7 separate regions of the Homo sapiens genome follow, and all the other regions are linked to region 1. The links are contacts of gene promoters, found by promoter capture Hi-C in blood cells and fetal thymus (Javierre and others, 2016). All regions are on one chromosome and are shown on one strand. The core of a region is centred on a gene start or on the middle of the fragment in contact, and the rest is flanking DNA. Distances in the headings are between cores, read along the strand shown.

Region 1 (3,836 bases), core at 345-2,844:
AGGATGCTGGCTCCACGGAGACTTGAATGATTGAAGGAAATCCTCAACACCACTTGTTGAATGACTCAACCAGGTAGGTGTGGCCAGGACTGAATGGGGCAGGGGCAGGCCTATAGTGTCTCCAAGACAATACCAAAGCAGATGCAGGGAATTGACTGAACATACTTCAGAGAGGCAGAAAGCAGGAGAGACAGAGTAATACCTTGCAAAAAGTAGCAGCAGTGAAGAAAGAAGTAATAATGAGCTCCTGTTTGCAGAGCCTCTCAGTGCTGGAGGAGAACAGAGTACCACTTCAAGCCCTCCTGAGTCTGGGACAAGTCTAATTTTGTTTCTGCTCACCCTAGACATATAGAGACAAACCTTTATTCTTAGTTGTTTTTCACTGCCAAATGCCCCAGAAAACAGGGCAGAACAGACTTTGTCTTCTTTCCAACCACCCATAGCCAAAGATGGCATAAAAGTGGAGGGTACCTCCTGCCTCCTTGCAAATGTAATATAACCCACACCAGCCAGTCTCTGCAAAGCTCAAGACACTAGCACTTTCCTACCACCATGAAGTCAGAAGGGACCTCAACCCCCCAAAGCCGCCCCAGCCTGAGCTTCACCTGTTGCACCTGCCCACTTACCATGGGTTCACACCAGAAGAGAAAGTAAAAGGTCAGGTTGGGCTCTCTCCACAGCAAGAGCCCAGAGAATACTAGGAAACTGACATTTTACAAAGCACCTCTTTAAAGCTCTCTCAGAGGTGCGTAACTTTTAACTCTACCTCCACTCCCAACCCCCCAGGCTTCCTTTGCAACTCTTTCCCACCATGGATGGCTTGTCGGGAGAGAGTTAAAGAAGGTGCACGACTAATTCCCCAAACCATCTCGCTTATCTACAGACAAAAAGAACAGCCTTACATGGAGACACGCAGAAACCACCCGCAATTTAGCTCAGACCTCACCTGTCTTATGCAACAGTACACACACACACACACACACACACACACACACCCGCAAGGCCAGAGTCCAATCCCCCTTTAATTCGGTAAACATAGTTTTGCGCCTTTCTTTTCCCTACGCAGAACCCGACTCTACTGGCAGCAGAGAAATAGATGTAACCCTAGTGCCAAATGCCTTGCAGAACACACAGATACACAGGAACCAAAATGCATCTCATAGCTCTCCTTGGTGCTGAAATCACGTTAGCCAGAAAATCAAAGGAGCGAGTGCTCTGGACTTACCCAGGCTGGGGGTGGGCGGCCGGGGAGCGAGAGGAGCTTCCTGGGAAGAAAATTCTTGCTTGCTCAGGCTGGAGCCAGCTGATGCGCTCACCTAGAGAGCCCTCCTCTTTCCCTTCTCTTCCCTTCCTCCTATTCTGGGAGGAAGAGACAAGGCTCCACGAAAGAAATGAAACCCAAGCTGTCAGGGCTACGGGTGGAAGGAGAATGAGGAGGCAACCAAAATAAGATCAAAAAGTCAGGTGGCTTCACTCCACTAGTGGTAATTCCTTGGGTCAGAGAGGACCCCCTTCTCTCACTCTCCCTGGGTCTGCCCGTCTCCTCTGGGTGTTGAGCCAACAGCCTTAGCACAGTCGGTTCCTGCCTCTGACGTGAAAGAGAGGAGGAAGCCTGGGACTGCTTTGCTGTCTCTCTCTCTCTCTCTCTCTCTCTCTCTCTCTCTCTCTCTCTCTCACGCGCTCTCTCTTTTCCCCTCTTGCTGAAATTTCAGCAGCATGATTTTTTTAAGCCTCCGTTTTTTCCATCCCCCTACAAGCAGCCCCCTAGTGGACAGAAAAGAAAAGCATCCTAAATCCTCTTGAACAGTCCAGATTCAGGCACAGAAATACTCCCCGCACCCAACTCTTGGAGCTGCCTCTGCATAGGCAGGGTCCTGAAGAAGATAGAGGCTTCCCTCTGACCAACCCAGATAAGAAGAGAAAGGGAGAGGATGGAAGCTTTTGCAGATCCTTTGCCCATGATTGAAGGAGAAATCCAGGGTGGAATGGGTTGGGATAGAATGTTTTGGAATAAGGTCAGTTGTGGGGTTCTCAAGTGGTTTGAGGTCCGGGCTCAGCAGAAGGAACCCTCCAAAAAGTCAGCGTCTGCAGCCAGGTGAAGTATGTGTATACGTAGCACAACCCAGGCATGGGAATGCCTAAAGAGGCAGAGGATACAGGGAGCTGGCCCTTCATCCAACTCCACAATATAGCTTTTTTGTAAAGCTAGTAAGAAAAATATCTGAAAAGATATGGCCTGAGATCATCTCAGAAGTAGAGACAGAAGTGACCTTGATGCACATTTATGGAGAACCTTGGCAGAGAAGGGGCATCAAGGGGTCACTGCTCATAGGCTCATAAGGGATATCTAACATTCTCTTTTAAATGTACAGCCACACAGCCTCCCGGAAAGAGTCCTAATACTTACATCTAAAAATCTGAGTCCTGGTTTCAGACTGCCACTTGCTTACTGGACATTTTGCTTCTCTATGGCTCAATTTTACTGTTTGTAAAATGTGGATAATGCTGCCCCCTCCCTACTGAATAGGAATGCTAAGGGACTGGAATGATATAGAAACATAGAACCTCAGGATTGGCAGGGAATTTAAAGGTAATCTTATACAAACACTCTTCTTATATTTGATTCACTCCTGGCAAATAACAATAGCTAACATTTATAGAGTGTTTATACCAGGTGCTAGGCACTGTTATAAGCCCTTACATGTATTAGCTCATTTAAGCCATACAATAACTCTATAATGCAGAGGCTATTATTGCTACTCTATAGACTGGGAACTGAGTAACAGAGGAATGAAATAACTTTCCAAAGATCACACAACTAGTGAGTGTCAGGGATGGTAATGGAACCTGAGCCATCTGACCCTGGAGCTTCCTCATTGAATTACCATGTTCTATAAATGTACACTTCAGGAGTGACATTTGAAGTAAATAGAAGATAGCACCACAGTTATCATTGCTTTTATTTATGACAAAGTGCCTAGATTGTTACAATAAATTTATATGTGGCTGAGTTTTTAAAATAAAATATTTACCACTAGGGGTGCCAAACAAACTGTGGAAATTGCTATTACCGATGAGAATCTCCTAAGAAAATTAATTCTCTTGGTGATTTGGGTAGTTTCACATATACAAAACTGGCTTTAAATCTTATAAAATTGGAAACTATTGGGTTTTAACATCAGTTCAGAAGACACATCACTCAATTTCTGTACCAAAAGCAAATTATTGCCCACTGCCTAACACAGTGCAAGAACGGAGCCAGCAATTTGAAGAGCTGAAACGTTGTAATGCATTCAGGTAATAAACGCTCAGTGAGAAATTGACATTTTCTTCAGAATCTCAGAATTATGAATTCCTTAGCTGAGGTGGCTTACTTTTTCTGGCTTTTTTTTTTTTTTTGGGTGAAAAGTGGATGAAGTAGGACAAAGATGGTAGGTGACAATTAACAAATCATGGTCCCTGTCCTCAACAGAGTTACCAGTTCCTCAAAGGGGGAAAGAAAGAGCAAGACACAAATGATTACAATTCAAGGACTAAGTGCCAAGAATTTGGGCAGTGAGCACATGGAAAACACAACTAACTTGATCTTTGAGGGCTAGGGGAATTCCTAAGGTATGCAGCATCTAAGCTGAGGCCTGAATAATCAGAAGTCTTCCCAGCAAAAAGTGGGTGAGAGAATTAAGCTGAAGGCATAGCATGTGCAAACTCATGGAGGAGGGAAAGGGGAAAGAGCATAGTAGGAAACTTTCAAAGAAAGTATTACCCTTCCACTGACAAATGGGGAATCTGAGGCTCATAAAAGTTAAGTGGCTTGCTCAAGTTCACACATCTAATAA
Region 2 (3,941 bases), core at 81-2,580, 360 kb before region 1:
GAAACCCTGTCTCTACTAAAAACACAAAATTAGCCGGGCGTGGTGGCAGATGCCTGTAATCCTAGCTACTTGGGAGGCTGAGGCAGGAGAATCGCTTGAACCCGGGAGGCAGAGGTTGCAGTGAGCCAAGATCACACCACTGCACTCCAGCCTGGGCAATAAGAGTGAAACTCCGTCTCAAAAAAAAAAAAAAAAAAAAAAGTCACTGGAGGAGGTGTGAAGAGTGGGCCAGGAGACAATGTGAGGGGGTTATTGCAATGGTTAAGATAATAGATGAGAACCTGGGAGACAGAGGTTGCAGTGAGCTGAAATTGTGCCACTGCACTCCAGCCTGGGTGACAGAGAGATTCCGTCTCAAAAAAAGGAGATGTTAGTAGCTTAGAACAGGTGATGGCAGTACAATGGATAGTACTAGACATATGTGCTAGGCACTTAAGAGATGAGATCAATAGGAATTGGCCATGGGTTTGTAAGATGTGTAGGTTGGGGAGACAGCTGTGAGGGTATAGACTCAGCAACCAGCATAACCCCAAGAGATAGGTCTTACTCACCTGTCAGGGTGGCCCTGGTGGTTGGACCAATGCCCCTGGGGACCAGTACCTCATGATATTGCTCACCCGCCAGGGTGCTGTACACAACCTTGTACTCCTGAACTTCGGCTTCACTGTTATCCCACTCGAGGTCAAGGCTGGTTGCTGTGCGAGAACCAACTCGCAAGTTCTTGGGGGCATCGATCTCTAAAAATAGACAGACATCACCAACATCGCACATGATAATGTAATGTACATTTGTGGTGCATCTTGAACTCTGAAAAGATTGGTGGTGACAGCCCACACCCCCTGACCCTCTGGCTCACATTTGAATGAACACTGTGGCTACCCTTAGCTTTTTGGTCTGCTGTGACAAATTCCTTGGGCAGGTTAGAGTGATACTTGGGAGCTGAAGATCAATACACTTTATGCTTCCCCCATTTCCATTCAAGAGTTCCAGTGGCATTCTAGAAACTTTAAAAGGAACCAGTCAACATCATAAGCTTAAAAACAAAACAAGGGAAACCCCAGGAGGAGAAAATCAGAGCCAGCTCCCGAGTGATGGAGATGGAATAGAACAATATCAAATTTGACCACTAAACAAAAAGAAGACTGTTGATTTCAAGGTTTTGAAGTGTAAGGTGCCTTCCTCTGTGTTTACTTGAATAAACACAGCTGTAAAGGTAAGACATATATGGAGGATGTGATGTAGCAGAAATAATATAGGCTTTGGAGTCAGGCTTCCGTTTGATCCCCAGCTCTGACATCTTTGGTAATGGAACCATGAGCAAGTCTTTTAACCCTGCTTGGCCTTGATGGCACCTCTGTAAAAGGGGCAAATCATACCAACATTTTCAGGTTGTTGCATGGATTAGGCAATCCATGGGCATCTGTACAAAAATAGGTGCCCAGCGCCTGTAGTCTCAGCTACTTGGGAGGCTGAGGCAGGAGAATGGTGTGAACCCGGGAGGCGGAGCTTGCAGCGAGCCGAGATCACACCACTGCACTCCAGCCTGGGCCACAGAGTGAGACTCTGTCTCCAAAGGAAAAAAAAAAAAAAAGGTGCCCAAGGCCTGGGCTGGCTTCCTGTTGCCTCTGAAGCTTTTCCTGAGTTCCATCAACCACAATGCTTGTTCTCTGCAGTTGCCACAAAGAGACGACGGGGACACTGCTTTTTTTCTCCCAGGACTGGCTATCTCCTCAAGCTGCTTTGGGCAGAAACAGCATAAACAACTTGCAGTGCAATAACGTGCTGCCCGGAACAACTGTCACTTAAAACGTTTAAAATAGTTCTTGCCTTTGACACTTGAATTTAACTTTGGAGTGAACTAGCCATTCATTGTGAGAAAACCTCGAGTGGACTGTTTTAATATGCAAAAGCAAGGCAAGTTTCCACCAATTGTTCTTGTGGAAGACTGAAATGCCGTGAATCAATGTGAGCGCAGAGGCTTTGGAGTGAGAAGTGTTCTGTTTAGCGATGTAAATTGGGTGAATCTTTTAGCAGATTTATGGCTCTGCAGCTTGTTTTCCTGAGAAATTCTTCCTCACTCACTGTACTTTAGCTTGCCAGATACTATGTATTCTTGACGTGTTATGTGTGTTATTTCTCCAGCAGTTGGATGGAGAGAGGAGCTTGGATAGAGAGGCATGTGGAGGAACACCTGCCCCTGCATTGTTGCCCCTAAATTTCATGCATGAGGAGAAGCTGGGCAAAGGGACTGGACTGGGCTTGGGGTGTGCAGCTAGAACTGAACTGGGGCAAAATTAATTTAGGTTTAGGGTTAAGGTTGAGACTTCTACCTAGTGCTCTTCACAACTAAAAACCCAGGCCTTGGAAATGTTAAACTATGGTTTTTGTTGTTGTTGTTGTTGTTTTGTATTTTTGATCATAGGGGTTGTGGTCTGTAGATTAAGGGGAAGTGTTGTCTCTGAAGGGACCAGATACCTCCAATGTCAATGATCCTGAAAGAAGTCAATCCTGAGAATGAGGTCTGGAAAGGTGGTTGTTAGAGCTAGGACAAGGTGAAATTGTTTGCTCCCTCTGGCCTTGAAGTCTGACCTCTAGGAGACTGGGGCCACCAAGGGCACCCCTGTAGGTGGGAGCTGTTCCCTGCAACGTCAGCAAGTCAAGAGCGAGGCAAAGACAGATGTCTAGTGGAGGCTGTGTGGAGAGACTTGAGACTATGGAATAGACATATCTAGCCACTAAAACATAAATTAGATTAAGTAATTCCCTTGCTTAAAACTTTTCTGTTGCTTCCTTTTACAAACTCCTAATTGTAGCCAGCAGGGCTCTGAGTGATCCGGCCCTGCCTGCTTCTCAGATATCTCCATGTACGACTTCTAAACTTATTCATTGCGCTCTAGCTATATTGCTTTTTTTCTGCTCTTGAAACTCATCAAGCTTATTCATACCTCAGGACCTTTGCACTGGCTTCTGCCTTTGCCTGGAATGTTCTCCAGATCCTCACATGGCTTAGGTCATCTAGGTCTCAGTTAAAACGTTACCTTTTCAGAGAGGCCTTTTCAAACCGCTTGATCCAACATGGCCACGCTTCTGTACCGTTTATTTCGCTTTTCATTATAGTACTCATAATCAAAATAATTTTGGGTGTTTATTTTCTTCTGCCTTGTCCAGTTTCTCCACTGGAATGTAATTAATGTGAACCAGGATCTTGTCTATCTGTTTATTCTGTAGCCTCAGTGCCTAGAATAGTGCTTGGCACCTGGTAGGTGTTCGATAAGCACACATCAAGTTGTAGAAAAGTCTTGTTAAATATTTCAGCTGTGGAGCATTGAGAATGCTTGGGGTGAGAAGGTGCAGAAAAAAGGATAGCTTTGACTGAGGGTGCTGGTCTTGTATGAGCAGGAAGTCCTACCCTGCTCTTTGCAGCCAGATTCTTGGCTGAGGTGCAAGTATCATCCAGGTTGAAATTGTGAAAGAATTTCCTGAAGAGTCCTAGAGCGGCATCACTGCCAAGCAGCTAGGGGCTTGAACTGTTGGGACTTGGAAGTTCCTATTAGTTTCCCAGGGCTGCCATAACAAGGTACCACCAACTGGGTGTCTTAAATAATATAAATTATTGTCTCTCTGGGCACGGTGGCTCACTCCTGTAATCCCAGCACACAGGGAGGCCGAGGCGGGCAGATCATGAGGTCAGGAGATCGAGACCATCCTGGCTAACATGGTGAAACCTCATCTCTACTAAAAATCCAAAAAGTAGCTGGGCATGGTGGCAGGTGCCTGTAGTCCTAGCTACTTGGGAGGCTTGAGGCAGGACAATCGCTTGAACCTGGGAGGCGGAGGTTGCAGTGAGCTGAGACCATGCCACTGCACTCCAGACTGGGTGACAGAGTGAGACTCCATCTCAAAAAAAAAAAAAAAGAAAAATTATTGTCTCACAGACTCAA
Region 3 (3,872 bases), core at 239-2,738, 330 kb after region 1:
TCACTCTGTACTACTGACAAGCCTCTAATAAAGGCAAGGGAAAATAAACAGGAAAACCAAGTCGAGATTAGAAGAAGAAAATTTTAGGGTAGAAGTTATGAGGGTGGGAATACATGTAGTGACTTTCAAAGTTTAAGCTTAGATTGTTTGTGTTTCCTTTTTAACCTTTATTTTGAATCATGTATGTTTTGAATTACCATAGAAGTAGAAAACTCACCAACACTTGCTGACAATCTTGCATTCCTTTTTAAGTTGTTAACATGAATTTATATTTCTGTCACATGTCATTGGTAATTCACAAACTTCTTTTATAGCCTAAGGATTATTTCTTCAAAGGAATATTTTTCAACAAGCAAATATGTGGACATATATGGACAAATGCTAGAGTCCTACTTACTCTGGATCCTCTCCCAGCAGGTAAAACAAATTTTCATTCATTCATGCATTCATTTAACAAATATTTACAGACATAGGAATATGCAAGAAATAAGACAGGTAAGGCCCCTGCCTAGATGAATCTCTCAGCCTAAAACACAGCTTTAAAAATAACTGCTTTAAAAGACTGATCCCAGGCAAAATTTGGGAAGGAAATCCCTCCCTCTGCACTCCCATTCATCTCATTTCTCAACCAACCCCAGATGGTCAATAACGCTTAAGACAATAATGGAAATACCTTCTGACAAAAAGGGAAAGTACATTGGCAGTCTTAAAAATCATATCCATTCCTTAGAAAACAAGTCAATAATTATCTAGAGATGTCTTTTTAAGTATAAATTTAAAGCTCACAAGCACTCTACAATAAGGAACATATTAAAAGTTACCCTCAATCTGGATCCACATTTGCTGCAATTATAAATTGAAACTTAGCAAAAATGATCCTTGTAACTATCATAGAAACATAAAGTTTAATTTGAATAGTTTCAAACTATGGTAAAGTGACATCTAAGGTGCAGAATTATACGTCAAAAATTAGTATAAAAAATATTCATTATTTTGACCTCCTTATAGGAATAGGGATACACAGTGTCAGAACCTCAAAAGAATTAATTCCTCTTTTTCTTCTGGGTGTCTCAAAGGAAAAGTGTTTTCTGAAACTTTACAAAGTTTCAATAAATCCTTAAGTGAATAGAAGAGCACTAGAATTCAGGTACGCCTGTATCCAAATCTCAGTTCTGTCTATTATTGGCATTAGGTTTATCTTGGACAAGTTACAAAATTTCTATCTCAGTTTTTTTCATCTGTAAAATGAGGTTAATAGCAATATCTTGCTACCCAGGGTTGATACAAGGATTAAATGAATTAGGGAATTGATGTAAAATATTTATGATGTTGTCTAAAAATGAGTAGGTAACACACTCCACATTACCAGTACAGAGACTATTCTAGCATCAATGAATGCCACCATAGATAACTATTTTCTTCTTAGGAATTTACTAATGCTTGATACAACTCCATTCCAACAGTTTGAACAAACATAAGTAAAAATATTGAAAAACTCTCTAGAGGTAGAATGTTTAACAATTTTTACCATAACAATCTAGTTGTACAAAATTCAAACTCGGAATTCAAAAGACAACCATCACTACTAAGTATATTAAGTTTAAACTATACAGTTTCAAACTATTTCTCTCTGGTGGACACTGAACACCTAATAGAATAAAAAATGCAAAATATGCTATTATTGCTGTGTGTAAAAAGAATGCAATTAACTGTCTTCTTTCCTGTTCCTTGCCATTGCTAACCTAGGACCATCTTCTACTTATGAGAGTGAACTTCACTGTATGTCACCAATTCCGTACCTTGTCTATTGTTTAATAGTCGAGATACTGTCAAAGTAAACAAATGCTGCCACCTTGTGGACTGAAGGGTATGGTCTTAACTCCAAATAAGCAAAGGAAGAAAAATACGTTTCTGGTTCGGCCTTTTCTCTCAGATTATCACTGCAGTAAGTGACCAACATTATGTCATGCAATTTTACAGTAAGAATAATTATCTCTTCTACAAAGTAACAAAATAATGCACCAAATTCAACATTATCTGCCTTCTCAAATACTTGTTTAGGCCTCTTTGTTTGAGACAGAGTCTCATTCTGTTGCCCAGTGCAGTGATCTCAGCTCACTGCAACCTCTGCCCCTTAGGTTCAAGCTATTCTCCTGTCTCAGCATCCCAAGTAGCTGGGATTACAGGCATACGCCACCATGCCTGGCTAATTTTTGTATTTTTAGTAGAGATGGAGATTCACCATGCTGGCCAGGCTGGTCTGGAACTCCTGGCCTCAAGTGATCTGCCTGCCTCGGCCCCGCAAAGTGCTGGGATTACAGGTGTGAGCCACCTCACCTGGCCTCTTTATTCCTCTTTCTGAAAGAAATTAATTAAATTTCCTTTTTTGGGAGGAATTAGAAGGCGTTGAAGTAAATTTATTATCAATGATGTGTTTGAATATAAGAAAGTAAGAAAAGCAAAAAATCAACAGAGCTGTGAGAGTTTTTCACACCTTCATTTCTTTGGCCATATCATCCTTTCTTGCTAGTCTTCATCTCTCATGCCTAAGAAACTTTAAAATTGGAATTTTTTCTTTAAAAAACATTAATTTGGTGTAATTAATAGAAAAAAAACGAATGTAGCATGCAAGACGGCCCAACCAGAGGTATCTTAAAAATTTCTTATATTAGTCTAAATGTTTTAATCTAACCACAATTTGTAAGTATTTCCAAACTAAGATCTTGTTTAGGTCTTCCTAAGAATGTATTTCTGCCTCAGAATGCACAATGTTTTCACATAAATGTCAGTATGATTAGGGTTTATTAGCAATTGTAAAAAATTCAACACTACATTAAATCAAGCTTTAAAAAAGCAATAATGAAACCATCTCTTCCCCAAAATCAAGCTAAAATGGCTTTCAGGAATGAAAAAAAAAAAAAAAGATTATTACTCTTTGTATAGTCACATAACTACAGGTAAGTGCATACATATCAGGTCAATATTATAAATAAACTTTGATACTTATTTTTGCCATTTCACATTCAATCTACATTTCTGAAGTCCTTAAAAGCATAGTATACATTCTTAACATAGTTAAGAATTTAAGTAAGAATGCTAATATGTTGCTCCAAAGTAAACTGTTTCATAAACTATTCTTTTATTTCTTATCTATAAGGGCCCTAAAATAAGATTGTGAGCTCTCCTGAATCCAAGTAACACGTCTGGCCTGTTCATGACTATATGCCTAGTCTGGCCTAGCCTGCACTACGTTATCAATGATTTTTTGTTAATTAAATTATGTAATAAAATGCACCCCATAATCTGCTGCATTTTCAAATTTTACTCAGTCAAGTGCCAACATACAGAAAAATAAAGGAATGTATGATTTTTGTCTTACTCATTACTGAGTTAAACAGCTGACAGAATACAATAAAAGATCTCCTCCAATAGTTTCTTTAGCTAATGGCTTAAATTTTAAGATCTTCATATACATAATAAATTCAAATCTTAGTCCTGTAAATGAAAAGCATGTTAAGTTTTAGCAATATTTGACACGTTAAAACTTACCAAATTCCCGATATGCCTCAAAAAACATCTTTTTAGGGTTATTCGTTCTAAGAGATTTGAACACAAAGTAGCAATTTGATTATACCAAGGAATTACTGTTAATTTGCTTAGATGTGATACAGCCCTGTGGTTTAACAATGTCCATTTTAAGAGATGCAGATAAGTTTCTGAGATTTGCTTTAAAATACTTAAGCATATACACACCCAACACTGGAGCACCCAGATTCATAAAACAAGTTATTCTCGGCTTACAAGAAGACTTAGCCACACAATAATAGTGGGGGACCTCAGGCTGGGTGCGGTGGCTCATGCCTGTAATACCA
Region 4 (3,936 bases), core at 1,009-3,508, 390 kb before region 1:
ATGGTCTTTTCCCTTTCCAGCAAAATCTCACCTTGCGGCTTCCATCGGTGGATTTGTAGGTCAAGACATAATTTTCAATCTCTGCCCTGGGAGGCTGCCAGGAGATCAGGGCACTTTGTCTGGTGACTTCACTGGCTGTCAGGTTTGCCGGAGGGTCCAGGACTGCAAAGAGGAGAAAGTGCCAGGGCATGCCTGCCTCTCCAGCTCCTCCCCCTGCTTGATTTCAGGTATGGGTATCTGTTGCCCACCTCTTTGGTCTCAGGATTGCTCACATGCTGACCCCTGCTCTGGCTTGGAAAGGAGCATAAAGGGTGCTCCTGGGTCAGATGATAATCATTCAGTGCCACGATCATTCTTGCAGCTACTTCCCCTTCCCTTACAGGGCCTCTAGGCTTGGGTGTGACATCTTCCACACTGACCTTCTATGCCTGAGATCTGGACCCTGATAAACTCTCATGTCTGCTTGTTCACTCGTGAACTTACGTTTCCACATATTACCTATGTCTACTTTCTCCTATTCATCACTCTACTCAGCAGCTCTTTCCTAGATATCTAGCCTTTTAATATCCATCAGACTTTTCTGGGGCAGATGCATTCCGAGTACAGACCTCTCTTGACCTGGTTCTTCTGCTGTCACCCAGGGTGAGAGCAGAAAACAGACATGTCTCTGCTGGCCAAAAGTTGCAGCTTAGTTTCACTGAATTTGGGCTGTAGTCAGTCCAAATAAGAACAGCTCATAGCTGCCCTGTCCAAAGCCTGTAAGTGATAATCTAGTCCACCACAAGAAAGCTGATCATTTCCACAAAAGTCCCCAGGGATACGGGTATGTAGGTGACCATGTACTCACGAGTAGAAAAGTTGGTGCTGATGGTGCCACTGGTGAGAGGTCCATTGGTGGCATACATGGTGGCAGTATAGTGGGTGCTAGGAAGCAGGTCAACAAGCCGAAATTCCTCACTGACTCCGTCAACAAGGATGGTCTCTCCAGCGACTGAACTCAAATGAATATGAATAAGGGTTGAATAAGGCTACTCAGTTTAGGAAAGATCTACCAAATCCAAAGGTATTTCACATGGATTTACTACTAGAGAATTTTGGAAAAAAATCTTTCATAGGTTATCTAGCTTAGTATCTTACTCTTTGCAAGGATTCCCCTCTCATCTCATATCATAATTGAAAAAAAGTGTTCTTTATGTGCAGGTCAAATTGTCTTCTCTATAACTTCTATTCGTGTCTCTGGAGTTATTAAGGATAAATCTAGTCTTTTGTGTACATGACCCCTTCCTCTCCACCACCCTTCCTAATCAAGTTCTCTCTCCACTAGACTGAGAAAATTCAGCCCCCACTTCCCATCACATTTATGTGACAATTTTAAAACCTTCACAGTCCTATCTACTTTTCTCTGAACACGTAACAGTTTATCAATGTCCCTGCTAAAGTCCAAAACTCAGAGAACTGAGAATAATGGAGAGGTACTGACCAATGAAATAAACAGGGTCAGTCTGTGCTTGTGCCACTTATATTAATTAGTAAGGTTTTGGGAATGCCATGTGATATTGTTATCACATGCCAAGATTATTGCTAATCAAAGATCTTCTTTGTAACCACTCCCCCTACCTCTCAATCCAATTTTGTTAGTTGATTTTTTATACCCATGGACAGAGCTTTGCATTTATTTCTATTGCATTTTGCCTCATTGATTGAGTTTTGGGCCACTGTTTCAGTTGATTAAAATATTTTTGAACTTGGATTCTATTGATCACAATTTTGTTTTATACACAAATTTGGTAAGCATGTCTTCTCTGAATTCATTCAAGCTGTTGATAAAACTGTTCATTAGTTCAGGGCCAACTCCTCTGTTGGGCAATTAGAATACTTGGAAATTATTTAATATTTAACAGTTTACTAGGCACATTTTCAGAATAGGTAGGGCTTTGAGATTTCAAGTTTCTTGTGGTCTAAAGGCATACAAACAAGTTAAAATTCAAACTAATGCTTAAGCTTTGGAAGAGCATGTATAAGGATATCATCTTTTTAATGTCCCCCTTTGCACATCATGCCATTGATTAATGCTCCAGCCATACCAAACTATGGTAGTTCTTCAGACTTCTTACACTCTCACATCTCTGCAAATGCCCACAGTCTGCTCTTTTTCTTGAAATTCCCTTTCTTCTCCTTTTCTTCTTTCACTTTATCTAAGACTTTTCTTCTTTCTTTCCCTCCACACCTTGACCCTATTCATAGTAGCCCACTGGACATGGCCCATGGTGTTCTGTGCATGTCTATAGCATACACTGCTCACATCAAGTTGTAACTATTTACTTCTCTGCAACATCATTAGAAGTGAGTTCCATAAAGATGAGAGCTCAATTTTTGTTTCTGAATCCTTATAGCCTTATAGAGTGTGTGGCACATGGTAGGGCATCAAAAGTATTTGTGGAATGAATGGAAGTTCATTGCTCTGTTAGAGCTGTGTGTTTAGTGTCTGTGAGCAGATGTGTCTGACTGCCTTCAGGGAAGCTTTGACAGAAGAGATAGGGTTGAAACCACGACTTGAAGGATGGGTTTTCTAGGCAGGCAAATGGGGGAGTTTCCTGGTGAAAGAAATAGCATGTGCAAATGCATGGAGGCTTGAGAAAGCATGGTGATAATTAAAAAATGCGGGATCATGTTATGAAAGGAGGGGTGACAGGAATTGAGATGGATTGTGCATGCTCACAGAGGGGTTAGGACATACCCATAGTAATGCTATCCCTTCTTCATGGAGGGTCATTCATTCAGCTACAGTCCCAGCTACCTCCAAATATGACCTTTCATGTATTTTTCCATGTTAACTAAGGACTAAGTGATAAGTGGGGTTTTCTGATGCCTTGCTGAAATACAAATGTACTAGCAGGTTTGCCAATGAAAACAAAGACATAAAGTAGTTTCGATAAAACTTATTCTTGGTGAATCTGTGCTGCTATATGGTAATCACTAATTCCTTTTCCAAGTTGTTTAATTGTCTGTTTTAGTTTTTACCTTCCTAAGCTTTGACAATAAGTTTACTTCTTTGCAGCTCACAGAATTAGCTTTCTCTGTCATTTTTGAAAACCAAGACATCTGCCTGCCTTCTGTCTTCTGGTATCTTTGTTCTCTGGATTCCTGAATATAACCCAAAACAATTCTGTGATCACATGTTTGATGAAGGCAGGGAAATAACTTCCCTAAGCCTAGAGACTTGGAGGACTCAACTCTATTTTGCTTTGGGCTTCTCTGTTCTGTTCAACTTCAAATGGTGTAAGGTGAACAAGCATGATACAGAAGACAGTGAACTTCAAGATTTCGTGTTAGTTAAACCTGTTGGGCTGGATATGAATAGAGAAGACAAAAACACGGAAGAGTTTAGCAGTCCTGAATCTTTTGTCACCTGTTAGCCTGTACTCTCTGTTTCAAACTTGGTCCTATATCTTCAGTGTTTTTCTTGCTCTGCGAATATTTAGAAAAGCCTGCTTTCTTGTTTGTAGCATTTTGGGGGCAAGTCTTAGCTCTGTTCTGAGTTTCATCTTCCTAGGGCTATTGCTCTGTTTTTGTACTTGCCCTTGGTTACATGCCTTTCTTGTACCTTTCAGATTCAGCTTTCTCAGCTCCTAGATTTGATACAGTTTGCAGAGTTTGGGGATATCTTCTTTTTTTTTTTTTTTTTTTTTTTTTAGATGGAGTCTTGCTGTGACTCCCAGGCTGGAGTGCAATGGCGTGATCTTGGCTCACTGTAACCTCCACTTCCTGGGTTCAAGTGATTCTCCTGCCTCAGCCTCCCAAGTAGCTGGGACTACAGGTTTGCACCACCACTTCCGGCTAATTTTTGTATTTTTAGAAGAGATGGGGTTTCACCATGTAGGCCAGGCTGGTCTTGAACTCCTTACCTCAAGTGATCCGCCTGCCTTGGCCTCCCAA
Region 5 (3,999 bases), core at 590-3,089, 340 kb before region 1:
ATGAAGACACTCAACAGCCCATTATTGTAGAATTTTCCCTTTTAAAGACCACTTATGTTCTGAAAGAAATCTAGCTTGTGTTAAACTAATTTTTATTAGCCTCAATCTTGGAGATGATGATGATAAAAAAACATTCTTGAGGACCTTGCTTTACTTTCTTCTGATTTCTCAAATGCTACTTGGAGTCACCAAAGGGTAAAACACAGAGAAATAGACTTTTGTGTATCGTCTTGGAAAATGAAGATTCACCAGTGTTGTGGCCATTAAATAATCAAGCCTTTAAGACTAACTAAGAGGCTAACTCCAGTGTGTCTGTAATTAGACCTGCCCATAGATTAAATCAAAGATCAAGCCGATATTTAAATGGTCATTATTAACTTATAAATTTATATGTAGTGGAGGCTTCGATGAGTTTAAGAGTTGTCATAGGTTTTGAATTTCTCCCCTGGGTAATCTCACCCCTCCCCTTTACAACCAGGTAGGCTGAGGCCAGCTGTGTTTTGCTGGACCTTGTGAGTGGAGAGTGCTGTCTCCTCATTGTACTCACATGTGCACCCTCAAATCCTCAGCAAAGACAGAGACACAAGGAGACCTTTAACAGATCCAAGACTCACAGGATAGAATCAGCAGCATATATATGCACTGCTGGACATTTGCTTCAATTACTTTTGCCTAAAACCATTCATTGAATAAAACAGTCTAGAAAGCAGAGCTTCTTGAGGATGGCAAATGTTGACCAAAACAAAAATTAAAAAAAATTTTTGTTTAAAATTTATAAAACTCAAGAAGTGTAAACGAAATTTAAATAAGCTTTCAAATGATGTTTTATAAACTGTATCACCTATAGTTTTGACCTTATTAAAGCTTTGAATTTCACTAAAACCTTTGGGACAACCTATATAACACATACAGAATGACTCCTAGGCCATGAGAAGAAGAGTTGATATTTAGAACCTGTCAGGATTTTGCATGATTATACTGAGCACTTATTATGTACCAAGTACAATGCTAACCACTTTTACATAGATTATTTCAATTCACCCTCTCACCAACACCATGGGATTAAGGTATCATTATTACTACCATTTTATAGATGACGAAATTGGGCCACACAGTCAGCAAACATAGAAGCTAGGATTAGAATGCAGGCAGAATGACTATAAACCTTCTTAGCCAATATACAATACCACTTTACATTTATATAGCATTTCACAGTCTATAAACTATTTTCATATATACCATCTAACAAGAATTTAAAAAAATATTTAGTAGCAGTCATATGAGGTAGTTCATGTAGAGATAATTATCCCAGCTTTACCAATGAGGAAACTGAATCCCAGGTTAAGGGATGTGCCAAAAGTCAGAGTGGGTCATAGCAGAACTGACTGTCAAACCCTGATGTTCTACAGTTTTCATTCTTTCCCCTACAATTTAGACAGCAGGTTACAGATTGCGCGAGATGCCTCCTTTCATTTATACATGGTGTCCCAAAGTAAACTATATTAGGAATAATTCAGACGATCTTAATAGGTGTGATCTCTAGACTGGTGCTCATCCTACAGGTAAGAAAATTCTTTTTAAACAGGTTCTCTAGTGCCTGTCTCCTGTGATTCAACACATTAACTCCAGGTTTCCTATGCAGGACTTCTGTCATAGTGGCAGAAATGGCCACTCCAAATTTCAAGTCACCAGCAATTCTTAGGGCATTTGGAACAAATCAGCGTATTCCTTTTTGCTTCCTTCTTCAAAGCTAATATTAACAATAGAGGGTGATCTAAGAAGAGCATTTTGGGATTTTAAAGCAAAAAAAAGAGGTGCAGAAGGATTTTTAAAAAAATCTTGGCAACTTAGCTTGAGGCCTGAGCCTGGTGGTAAAGTTGCCTACACTTCTGAATGAGAAAGCAGCAACTGGCGTCATTCCTCGTGGAAGTGGTCTTGACAATGGTGGCTCAATGGAGGAGACCACCACCACTTTCACTCTAAATTAGCAGCAACTATGTACACTAGGCATCAGTAATCCTTATAAAAGAAAATTATATTGAACTGTACTGCAAACAATCAAAGAGCCTCATGCCTTAATTCAATGAATTCACGGTGGGTGCAAAGTATTCTTAGCCTTACTTTCTTTGGGGTGTCAACTTTGAAACTTGAGGAAGAGCATGCTGTTAAAGAGGAATAAACTGTGGCTTGAGGAATCAGGGTTGCTTATCTGCAAAGATGCCATGCTGTTTCCTCTTTAGATTTTGCATAAATGTTGCACTTATGTGGTGAGAGCAGTTGGAATTAGTTCCATGATGTGTCTTACTCCAAAGAGTAAGTGGTTTCGGGTGCCAAAGGTTGGGCTGGCTGCAGTCCTGACAGAGCAGAGGCTGACACTGATGAATCTCCGCAGGTCTGACTGAAGTCCAGGAAACAGCTTTCTGGATTGTCTCAAGACCCTGTTCTGATGGTTCTTTTATCCTGCTGGCTCCGGGGGAGTTTTGGCCAGCTCCCTGGCCAGCCCCAGCACTAACCACCATCACTGGGGACAGATGTGGACAAATGGTTGAATGTGCTTTTCCACCCTACCTCTGACGTCTCATTTTTTTAATCATGTGATGGAGCTCAGCTTTCATATCAAAGGCTACTTCTTTGTGTATATGGCTTTAAAATTTTTATTTTTCAATTCTATTCTACTTTGCATTCCAGAGAAGATAAAAGAGTGCTAGAAGCTGGTAGGAGACCAGGATTCTTTTTCTTACTCCGCCATTAATTAGCTGTCTGGCTCTGGGAAAATCTGTCTCACTGACTGCTGCTTTTTAAATCTGTAAAATGAGAAGCTTCTTTCTAAGGCCTGTTTTAAGTTCTCATATTCATGAATGTTTTGTTCTATTATCTGTACATGGGCAGAGAATGGAGGCAGAAGTCTTGAGATTTTGTCCCTTGGCACACTATGAGGATAGATCAAGGCTAGGAGTCAAAAGTAGTGACCTTGGCAACACTATTCAATTGTGCTTAAGTGCTGCAGACCTAGGGGGCCTCAGAATGCAATCCACACAATGGGCAGCTATTTTCTACGCCCTTGCCAAAGAGAAAAGAATGCCCTATAACGAAGTATATTTTGTGGCTCTCAGTGTTTTCACCTTCCTAACCCTTCTCTCTCCTCTCCTCAGTCCCATGGGCAATGGGAACATCGTGCTGTGGTGTGTGCACCCGGCCAGGAACGTCAAACAGTGGATAAATAGCCCCTTCTCCTACAGTCTTTTCACAAAGAGCAAGCAAAGGAGCACTTTAGATAATGACCTAGATACTTCTCTGGAAGAGACCTGTAGCACTTGGTTTAAAAAGCAGGCCTTAAGAGCAGACCTCCTGCAAATGAGTGGTGGCTCTAGGGTTGCTATAGAAACAGATGGAGATTATGCAACTGTCCTTCTTCACATGCTTTGGGAACCTGTAAAGTAATTTATCTGGGCCTATTGAAGTGTTCCTCAAGCAGCACAGAGGTACCATGTCAGAGGTAACGTGCTCATAGTTTGGACTCAACCCAGTTGTAGCTATGCTAGCAGCTGCTGAGTCTTCCCTGAGGTAGCCAGGAGGGTTCAGTGTAAGTCCTGGATTAGATCAAGATTTTGTTTGCAAATGAACCTATCCCTGTAGAAAGGCAGGGTCAAGAATATGACAGGTATGTCCAGACCGCCAAAGAGTAAGTCTACTAAGAAGCATGTGCGCTACAGAATAGCATTAACACAGCGATGGCCCACACTGACCCTGGGTGTCCTCCAGATGGGGTCTCATGGAGCCTCATCCCCTGGATGGAAACTGGAGCCATTTGTCAGCCTGGCTTCCCAGAAGGTGCCTAGTGACTTTGGATTCAGAAACAATAAGGCTTAACTTCTGCTTGAATTTCACTTTGGGATAATTGGTGTGGTGACAATATTTTTAGAAAGATATTTCAATTCAGTAAACAAAATTGGGAGGCTAAATGAAATAATTGGATATGGAAAAAATTAAGGAACATTA
Region 6 (3,756 bases), core at 388-2,887, 310 kb before region 1:
CCTTTACTAAATGCCATGGATTCTAAAATCTTCTGATCCCTAGTCTGATGTGTTCTCCATTGCACCACTGACCTGCACAATGCCATGCATTCTAATATAATTTATTTGTTCTATTCTCCTTAAAAAAAAATACAGGTTGTCACCCACTTAATAGGTTTCATGACCCACCAAGACATAACAACCCACAGCTCAAAAATCATTGCTCCAGAGCAGCACTGTCCAATGACTATACAAGTCAGTGAGTGTGAGCCATGTATGTAATTTTAAATTCTCTAGTAGCCACACTAAAGAGGTAAAAATAAGCAGGTGAAATGAATTCTGATAATATATTTCATATAGCAAAAAATTTTTATATAGCTAAATATTATTATTTTGACATGAAATCCATATAAAAATTATGAGTGATGTATGTTGCTTTTTTATACTAAGTCTTTGAAATCTGGTATGTATTTTTACACTCACAGCACAGGATTAGGCACATTTCAGTGCTCAATGGTCCCATGTGGCTGGTGTCTACAGTGTTGGGCAGGGTAGCTTTAGAGGCTAGTTCATGAAGAAGAACCAAGTGTTTATCATGGTTTATTTTTTATTATTTTTTATTTTTTATCATGGTCTTTACAGGTATATGAGAAGTGTTTTGTTTCCTTCCTTCCTTCCTTCCTTCCTTCCTTCCTTCCTTCCTTCCTTCCCTTCTTCCCTCCTTCTCTCTTTCTTTTCCTTCCTTCCTTCCTTCCTTCCCTTCTTCCCTCCTTCCCTCTTTCTTTCCCTTTCTTCCTTCCTTCCTTCCTCCCTTCCCTCTTTTTTCCTTCTTTCCTCCCTCCCTTCCCTCTTTTTTCCTTCCTTCCTTCCTTCCTTCTTCCCTCCCTTCTTCGCTTCCTTCCTTCCTTCCTTCCTTCCTTCCTTCCTTCCTTCCTGTCTCCATTTCCCAGGCACTTCCCTCCCAGCACCAAAAAATGCATTACAGCAGAATGGGTTTCGGATTGGTGTCTAGATTTTTAGATAAAAATCCTATCTTTTTGTAGCTTTCAGGAACAGTTGAGGGGAAAGTTAAGAAGATAGACATTCTACTTCTTTAAGTAACCTCAAGATGTGTAAGTTGGTGAATTCAGCAAACAATTATTGAATAGCTATTATGTATCAACAGTAAACCAATGCCTTGGCATCTAAGGGAATTTTTAGGGAAGCTTTTCATCAGATCTAGAAGATAATTTGGTTAGGGCTTGTCCCTCTTTGTCCTTAATGGTCTTCCTTTTTAATTCTTGCTGTACTAGAGGCTGCGTATCCCTGTATGCCTACTGCTGACCAGCATCTCCTACTCATGGCGTAAATCTGGTGAGACATGGCTGAGGGAACTGATATAAGCTACTATGGCTGGGTTTCAAATCCTGCTAAGTTTATTATTGTTAATGATGACAGGACTTGCAGCTGACATTTACATAAGCCTTCAAAATTAAAACTTGCTTAAAAATACATCATCTAATTCAATTTTCTAAGCAACCCTGGAAGTCGAAGTTATTATTGTCATCTTCATATTATATATGAGAAAATTAAAGCTTAGGGAGGTTAAGTAAATTGTTCGAGATTACACATTTGTTCAAATCAACATATGTTTTTTGAGCACCTACCAGGCATAATATTATATGTTGGCCATATAACATGGAATAAAGTGTCCACCATTGGTTGAATTCTGACTCAAATACAAATCTCTTTAGTTTGAATTTCAAGCTTTTTTCCCCCTGTGCTGCACGATTCTCATTTTACGTAAGTGGAAATGCTCACCAACTACTCTTAGTTTATTCTTGGTTTGACATGACTCATTTGTCTGTCATCTATCATCACTTACTTAAACAATTAACTGGATATCCAGGGATAGAATCCATTCTGCTTTCCCCATTTAGGGACTCCCTTTAAACTCATTTGGGACCTGAAAAATTGGCACCCCTCCCTTGGGTTTTGAGTCTTCTAGTTATACATTTGGTCCAAATAAAGCAGAAATCAGAGCCAAGGATTTAAGAGTTTCATCCTTCCATTTTATAGCTCAGTCCTCAGAAGGATATTTTCATGGTGCTCTAGAATATTCTATGATATGGGTTGTGATTAGAAGCAAAGCAAAGGGAGAAAAAAGTATCTGTAAGGGGTTCCTTGTGTCAAATAAATTAAAGAATCATAGAATTAAATAGCATTAGATTTCTTTACAGAAGAAATTTTCAGTCTTTAACATGCAAACATGATTTGTGAATCATTAAGATAGATATAGATGTATATGTAAATATAGATTTAGAATTGATATATAGATAAAGATACAGATTATAAATATAGATAAATGCAGAAATGGGAGGCAGCATCAAGTGGTATTAAAAGAACAGATTCTAAACCTGGACTGCCAGAGTGAATCCTGACTCCAATAGTTGCTCTCTTGTTTCAGTTTCCTCATCTGTGAAATGGGCAAAATAGAGTTGTGATGATTAATTTAACTAATACCTACAAATCACTTAGAACAGAACCTATGACATGATCAGTGTTCAGTAACTACTACATGAAAATACTAGTATCTAGCTGAATTTGGCATGCAGAGAATCCTGAATGTAAAACCAAAGGGCCTTCTTTTAAATAGCATCTTATGAGATTAATATTACATGAAACACTCTTTGTAAAGTGCTTCCCAAGGATGTAGAGCACAGGTTGGAATAGGTGGAGAAACTGGGTAGGGTCTAGAATATGGAAGAAGAGTTTTGTATAATGTCACTGATGGAGGAAAGATGTTTTCTCTGGAAGAATTTGATCCTTGCCATTGTAGTCTCATCACCAAGAAGGCACAGGTTGGTAGCCCAAAAGCCCAGAAGCCCAGGGTTAGCAAATAAGTGATATGCGTGTCTTTACTTCTGAGTTTTCCCTCATGACAGACATTGCTAATTGATCACAGCACACTCGCCTGCCAACCTTCTCACAGTACTTTGTGCAACTTTACAAAAATGATGGAATATGTATGTGAGATACAGCCTATTTTATATCTATTATATAATATATCTATTATATAGATATAATATAGATAATGATAACATTATAATATAGATAATGATATTATATCTATTATCATTTAGTGGTGAAAAATGTGGCAGTACTTCACCACAACTGTTTCTGAAACCCCAAGCAATAGTTTGGACAACAAATTCTATTGCACCAACAAATTCTCAGCCAGCTTTGTTTAGAATTGACTCTGCTTAGAGCCTGAGGAAGTTAAATAATGGCCAAAGTAATGGCAGTCATAGTAATAGTAAAAGTGAGAAAGAAATTGCTGAATGGTAACCTAGATGACTCTTAAGAATTAACTCCTTCAGTAGGAATTAAGTCAGGCATCCTGTAATCAGAATTAGACAACAATCTAAATGAGAACATTTGTTTTCTCATATTGCAGGCTAGGAAGATCATTCTAGTGGTTGAAATCATGCTATGTCCTGGAATATTTCCCACTACTCTCACTCCCATCTCTATGCACTTTCAATGAGTACAGACTCCAAGACATGGAATCAGAAAGCAGAATTTAGAGATCACCTTACACCTTTTTATCTGACAGGTGAGAAAAACCAGTTCTTAGCGGTAGAGCTGAGATTAGAATGTAGGTCTCCTAAATCCTGGTTCCATGCTCCTTCCACTGTAGAACCTTCCTCCTTCAATGCTGGCTGATACTTCTCCTTTACATCCAAAGATAACCATGTTTTTCACTGAAATATTTCAAGTTTCTTCTCTGCTTTCCTC
Region 7 (4,084 bases), core at 90-2,589, 400 kb before region 1:
TGAGCTGTCTCTGTCTCCTTCCCTGCTGATTTGGGAGCACTGCTATTATCTCCTCATTCTTGACCTGGCCTCTGGAACAACCAGCCTGTCTGCCTTTCTTTCTCCCCTTTCATCTCACTGTTTGAGTTTCTCATTTTAGAAGATCAGCAATTAGTGCCCTTGGTCTTTAGCTTACTCCTAAGGTATGCACTAATAGCCCCTTTTCCTGAAGAAAGGTTTCTTCATGCAATAAACTCAGCTTCTTGAAGGAGCCAGAACCCCAAATTTCTTTCCAATATCCAATGTATCCCCAACAAAACATCTCCCCACAAATCTCAAAATGACAGTCTCATACAAATACACATATAAATCTAAACATCAGAATGGGGAAACAAACGATCTCATGCAGGCTTCTTCATATTGATAATGTAGATTGATTTAATATTTATATTACAGATACTTTTTAAAGGCTCAAACATATTAGTTGCTTTAAAGCTAGACCTACAGACAAATACAGTAAACTGAGATGACTTAGACAAGGGGAGTTTTGAATACCTGAATGGCTATCATATAAAATAGTGATTCATTTTTTAAAGTTAGAAAAATAAGAATAAAATTATCTTAAGAAAAAAGTGTTTTCTAAGGGGTGCCAAACACTGGATGGGATAAACGTCCCAGATTACACCCTGGGAGAGGAAGGACCATGCTTTCTTCCTTCCAGGCCGGCAATGAGCTGGTTGGTGGGGTGGCGGGGGGCGGGTACTCCCCAGATGTGCATGAGGCAATGATGCATCGTTGCTGGGTGCGCTTGCCTTCCCTTTGACAAATTGCAAGGCCATTTGGTTGTTTATAGATTCCATTTGCTGTGATTTAGTCAGTGGCATTAATGTAAAGACAACAAGCATTTTGCTCACACAGACTATCAAGAGCAGCAACCTGGGATTTTCACATCTTCGGAACTTGGAGAAGACCTCACATTTACAGCAAAACCATTCCTTTTCAACCTGCTTCAGCCTGCAACTCTAGTCCTTGTCCAAAATATTATTCCTTTTTTTGCAGACAAGAGAAGGCAGAGGCTCACTAATGGTTCTCAGACTGGGACCTTATTAAAATTCAGATTCCTGGTTTCCATAGCAGATTCACTGAATCAGAATATCAGGGGATGGCGCAGGGAATCAGTGTTTTACTGAAGCTTCTCAGACAAGTCTGAAGACCAGCTAGATTTGAACCTTCTCTTTGTCTGGCACATTTTCCTCTTCTCTAGAGGCCAAGAAGTGGAATTGGTAAACTAAGCAATGCCTCAGAGGAGCCCTGTGGTCTGTGTTCTCTGCCCAGATCCTTGTGGCTGTGTGGATGAATACTGTAGATTGAATGTCTGTCTCTCTCTCCCACTTGCCCCCTTTCCTCCTCTTTCCCTCTCCCCCTCTTTCCCTTTCCCAGTAGGTATGTCTTGAGTGGGCTGGTTCCAAGAATTGGATTGAGTGCGATAGGAAGGAGAGGGGATAAGAGATTGCATTTAGCCTGGAGTCTAAGCTTTGTGTCCTAGTATTTATTGTTTTGTTCTGCTTTGGGGGTTATTGGACTTTGCTTAGCTAATAATAAAGAACACACTGGTTCCTGTTCTGCTGTATTCAATGTGAACGTACTGGGGCTTTATACATTTTAGGAGACTGTCAGGGCAAATTTCAGGCCCTCCTAGCTCTCTGGATGTCACACCATTTAATATTATCAGAAACTCGCCTCTGACCCCAACATATATCAGCTCAGTAATTTTTCCCAAAGCAAAATCTTAAGACCAAGAGCAAAACTGGAAGGTTTTTCTTCCTTTTGGTGCAATAACTGGAGCCTAGACCGATGGAGAATCTTTTAATTTTTATTTTTTTTAGCACAGGCTGTGGTGATTACTAAGTTAAGAGAAAAGCCACAACAAGTGCTTGGTACACTGAAATGTCTCATAGTTAAGTGTTTCTAGATGTAATTGTGAGATCAACGGGACCATGGCGTTCACCAGAAGAATTGCTCTGAAATTGGTTTGTTTTGGGAAGTGGAGGCTGAATGCTGAGTGGAGTGGAGCAAGCTACATGACACGCAGTGCAGTCAGGGGACCACCACTGCTGGGACAGACTTTCTCTGTCCTGGCCCTGCTCTTTACTTGTTTTGGATTCTTGGGTGTTCCTTTAAAATGATCAGCTTTAATGGCCCTGGCAAGTGTCTGTCCACTTTTCTGGCCTCAGCATCAGGACTGAAGCCACAATGTCAGCATTTGTCTCTGAAAACAGCCTCAGCAGGTTTCTCTGTAAGCGCAGAACACAGTGTTGCGCCATAGAAGTGCAGGCGGCCACCTCTGGTTATCAACACTTAGATTTGCTTTTTCCCAGAAGCTTGTTTGTGGTTGACTCTCCCTTGTTAGAATCAATGGCGCACATCTGCAGAGTAGCTGGCTAGACTGTCAGGGGCAGCCTAAGTCTGCCAACAGGACAAGGTTACCTGCTCAGCCCACATGGGGTGAGCCACTTGGCTTTCTCACAGCGTCTTCCAGTATATTTACCTGTTTATACTCTTACTAATTCAACAAATATATAACAGAGTGTCTGTTGGGTTCTAAATACTGGGCTAAAAGATGGGAATATAAAGAAGGAAAAGACACAGTCACAACCTTTCAGGCTGCTCATGCTGTGGTGGGAGAAACAAATATAACCTTGAGCTCTAAGTGCTCTGGGAAAGAGATAAACATTGTGGGCTGGCAAAACCTGGATGTGGGCGTGCAATGATGCCTGGCTGGCAAGGACAGGGTGAGAAGTGGGGGCCCGGGATAGGGCAAAGGGTGACAACTGCTAATCAGAAAGTTACTTTAGGAACTGACCTGGATGCTGGCCACAAATTGGTGGAGAAGGGTGTTCCAGACCTGTGCAAAAGTACGGCCCCTTTGAGAAGTTGAAGGTTTAGCAGGAGACAGAGCAAGAATTGGGTGGGATGGAGGAAAGAGAGTGCTGGGGAGGTAAGCAGGGATGGGATCATGTCATTTATGGAGGCAATTGGAGGAAGAGTCTTTTGGTGGACTTTAAGCTCAACTTGTTAGAAAGACCATTCTCAGTGCAATGTGGAGAATGAATTAGATGGGGGTGAGCCTGGAGGCAGGACTCCATTCAGGATGTAGTGGTGGGAACCCAGGAGGAGAGTGACAATAGCCTTTAAGGAGGTAATAGAGTGAGTGGAGAATTAACTGAACAAGACAGCTTTGATGTGTTCACCCTCAACAGAGTTCCGGAAGAAGGTCATCAGGCTCTGCAGACCACCTGCCTTCTGCCCAAGGGCAAGTGCAACAGACATCTAAGACATCTAAATCCTCCCTTCACAGGTCAGCTAAAGGCATCCTAGTACTAGAGGAATGTTCTGACATCATTTCTCTTATTATTCCTTTGATCCACTTATATCAGAAGACCCAATTTCATGGCAGATTAGATTGATCACAGACTGGCAGTTGCAGCCTGGCCCCTGTCTGTGGCTCTTGATTCAACATGGCAAGGGAGGGCTGGGTCCTGATGACACTTCCTACTGGTCTCCCTGCTGCCATTCTGGTCCCACCTGCATTCATTCTCCACACTTTAGCCAGAGTGACCTTTTTATAGTGTGAATGTGATCTGATTTCATCCTATCTTTTACTTGCCCAAAACCCTTCAATGGCTTCTTTATTGCAATTAGAATAAAATCCAGAATCCCTACCATGGCCTACAAAGCCCTGTACGCTCCGTCTCTGTCCTGCACTCCTCCCCACTTTCACTATTCTTCAGCCTCATTAGCTTTCTTGTAACAGATGGAAAAGGCCAAACTTACTCCTCCCTCAGGGTGTAGTAATTACTCGTCCCTAGGCCTGGAATGCTCTTCTTTGTGGATTCACTCTCATTATTCAAGTCTTGGCTCACAGGTCTCAGGTAAAGAGACACCTGTTCTGACGACCCTAGTTGAGACCAGGGTCTGGGATCGGTGGAGGAAGTGGCAAGTGATAATCAAGAAAGACTTCCTACTATAGGTGCTGTCCTAGAAGTCAGCTCTTTACACTGTCCCTATTCCATTACTCTGTTTATTTATTTACTTAGCTTTTGGT

The links. The method cuts DNA at HindIII sites, captures the fragments that hold promoters and counts their contacts. A CHiCAGO score of 5 or more calls a contact.
Region 2: a contact is called between a fragment that was not itself captured here and the fragment with the promoter of TNR in region 1, in 4 of 17 cell types (erythroblasts, megakaryocytes, naive B cells and 1 more). The highest score is 6.5, in erythroblasts.
Region 3: a contact is called between a fragment that was not itself captured here and the fragment with the promoter of TNR in region 1, in 3 of 17 cell types (endothelial precursors, megakaryocytes and erythroblasts). The highest score is 12.1, in endothelial precursors.
Region 4: a fragment that was not itself captured here is called in contact with the fragment with the promoter of TNR in region 1 in 2 of 17 cell types (erythroblasts and naive B cells); the score reaches 5.8 in erythroblasts.
Region 5: a contact is called between a fragment that was not itself captured here and the fragment with the promoter of TNR in region 1, in 3 of 17 cell types (naive B cells, erythroblasts and total B cells). The highest score is 6.0, in naive B cells.
Region 6: a fragment that was not itself captured here is called in contact with the fragment with the promoter of TNR in region 1 in 3 of 17 cell types (total B cells, naive B cells and erythroblasts); the score reaches 6.6 in total B cells.
Region 7: a fragment that was not itself captured here is called in contact with the fragment with the promoter of TNR in region 1 in 1 of 17 cell types (total B cells); the score reaches 5.0 in total B cells.

Annotation. Positions count from the first base shown.
Region 1 is chr1:175,742,001-175,745,836 of GRCh38, forward strand. It overlaps TNR (tenascin R), which reads right to left and starts at 1,595. Exons shown (of 23, transcript NM_003285.3): 1 at 1,226-1,595. The HindIII fragment of the contact is 6,381 bases long and covers 1-1,936 here.
Region 2 is chr1:175,379,001-175,382,941 of GRCh38, forward strand. It overlaps TNR (tenascin R), which reads right to left. Exons shown (of 23, transcript NM_003285.3): 9 at 552-737. Among named protein-coding and RNA genes, the nearest start is that of KIAA0040, 190 kb to the left of the region's middle. The HindIII fragment of the contact is 598 bases long and covers 1,032-1,629 here.
Region 3 is chr1:176,071,884-176,075,755 of GRCh38, forward strand. All of the region lies in intron 11 of COP1 (COP1 E3 ubiquitin ligase), which reads right to left. Among named protein-coding and RNA genes, the nearest start is that of MIR1843, 110 kb to the left of the region's middle. The HindIII fragment of the contact is 2,706 bases long and covers 136-2,841 here.
Region 4 is chr1:175,355,472-175,359,407 of GRCh38, forward strand. TNR (tenascin R) reads right to left here. Exons shown (of 23, transcript NM_003285.3): 16 at 848-991; 17 at 32-162. Among named protein-coding and RNA genes, the nearest start is that of KIAA0040, 160 kb to the left of the region's middle. The HindIII fragment of the contact is 519 bases long and covers 2,000-2,518 here.
Region 5 is chr1:175,397,594-175,401,592 of GRCh38, forward strand. The region is part of intron 4 of TNR (tenascin R); the gene reads right to left. Among named protein-coding and RNA genes, the nearest start is that of KIAA0040, 210 kb to the left of the region's middle. RefSeq lists an enhancer at 2,731-3,259. The HindIII fragment of the contact is 1,955 bases long and covers 863-2,817 here.
Region 6 is chr1:175,427,018-175,430,773 of GRCh38, forward strand. The region is part of intron 2 of TNR (tenascin R); the gene reads right to left. Among named protein-coding and RNA genes, the nearest start is that of KIAA0040, 240 kb to the left of the region's middle. The HindIII fragment of the contact is 172 bases long and covers 1,552-1,723 here.
Region 7 is chr1:175,339,496-175,343,579 of GRCh38, forward strand. All of the region lies in intron 18 of TNR (tenascin R), which reads right to left. Among named protein-coding and RNA genes, the nearest start is that of KIAA0040, 150 kb to the left of the region's middle. The HindIII fragment of the contact is 341 bases long and covers 1,170-1,510 here.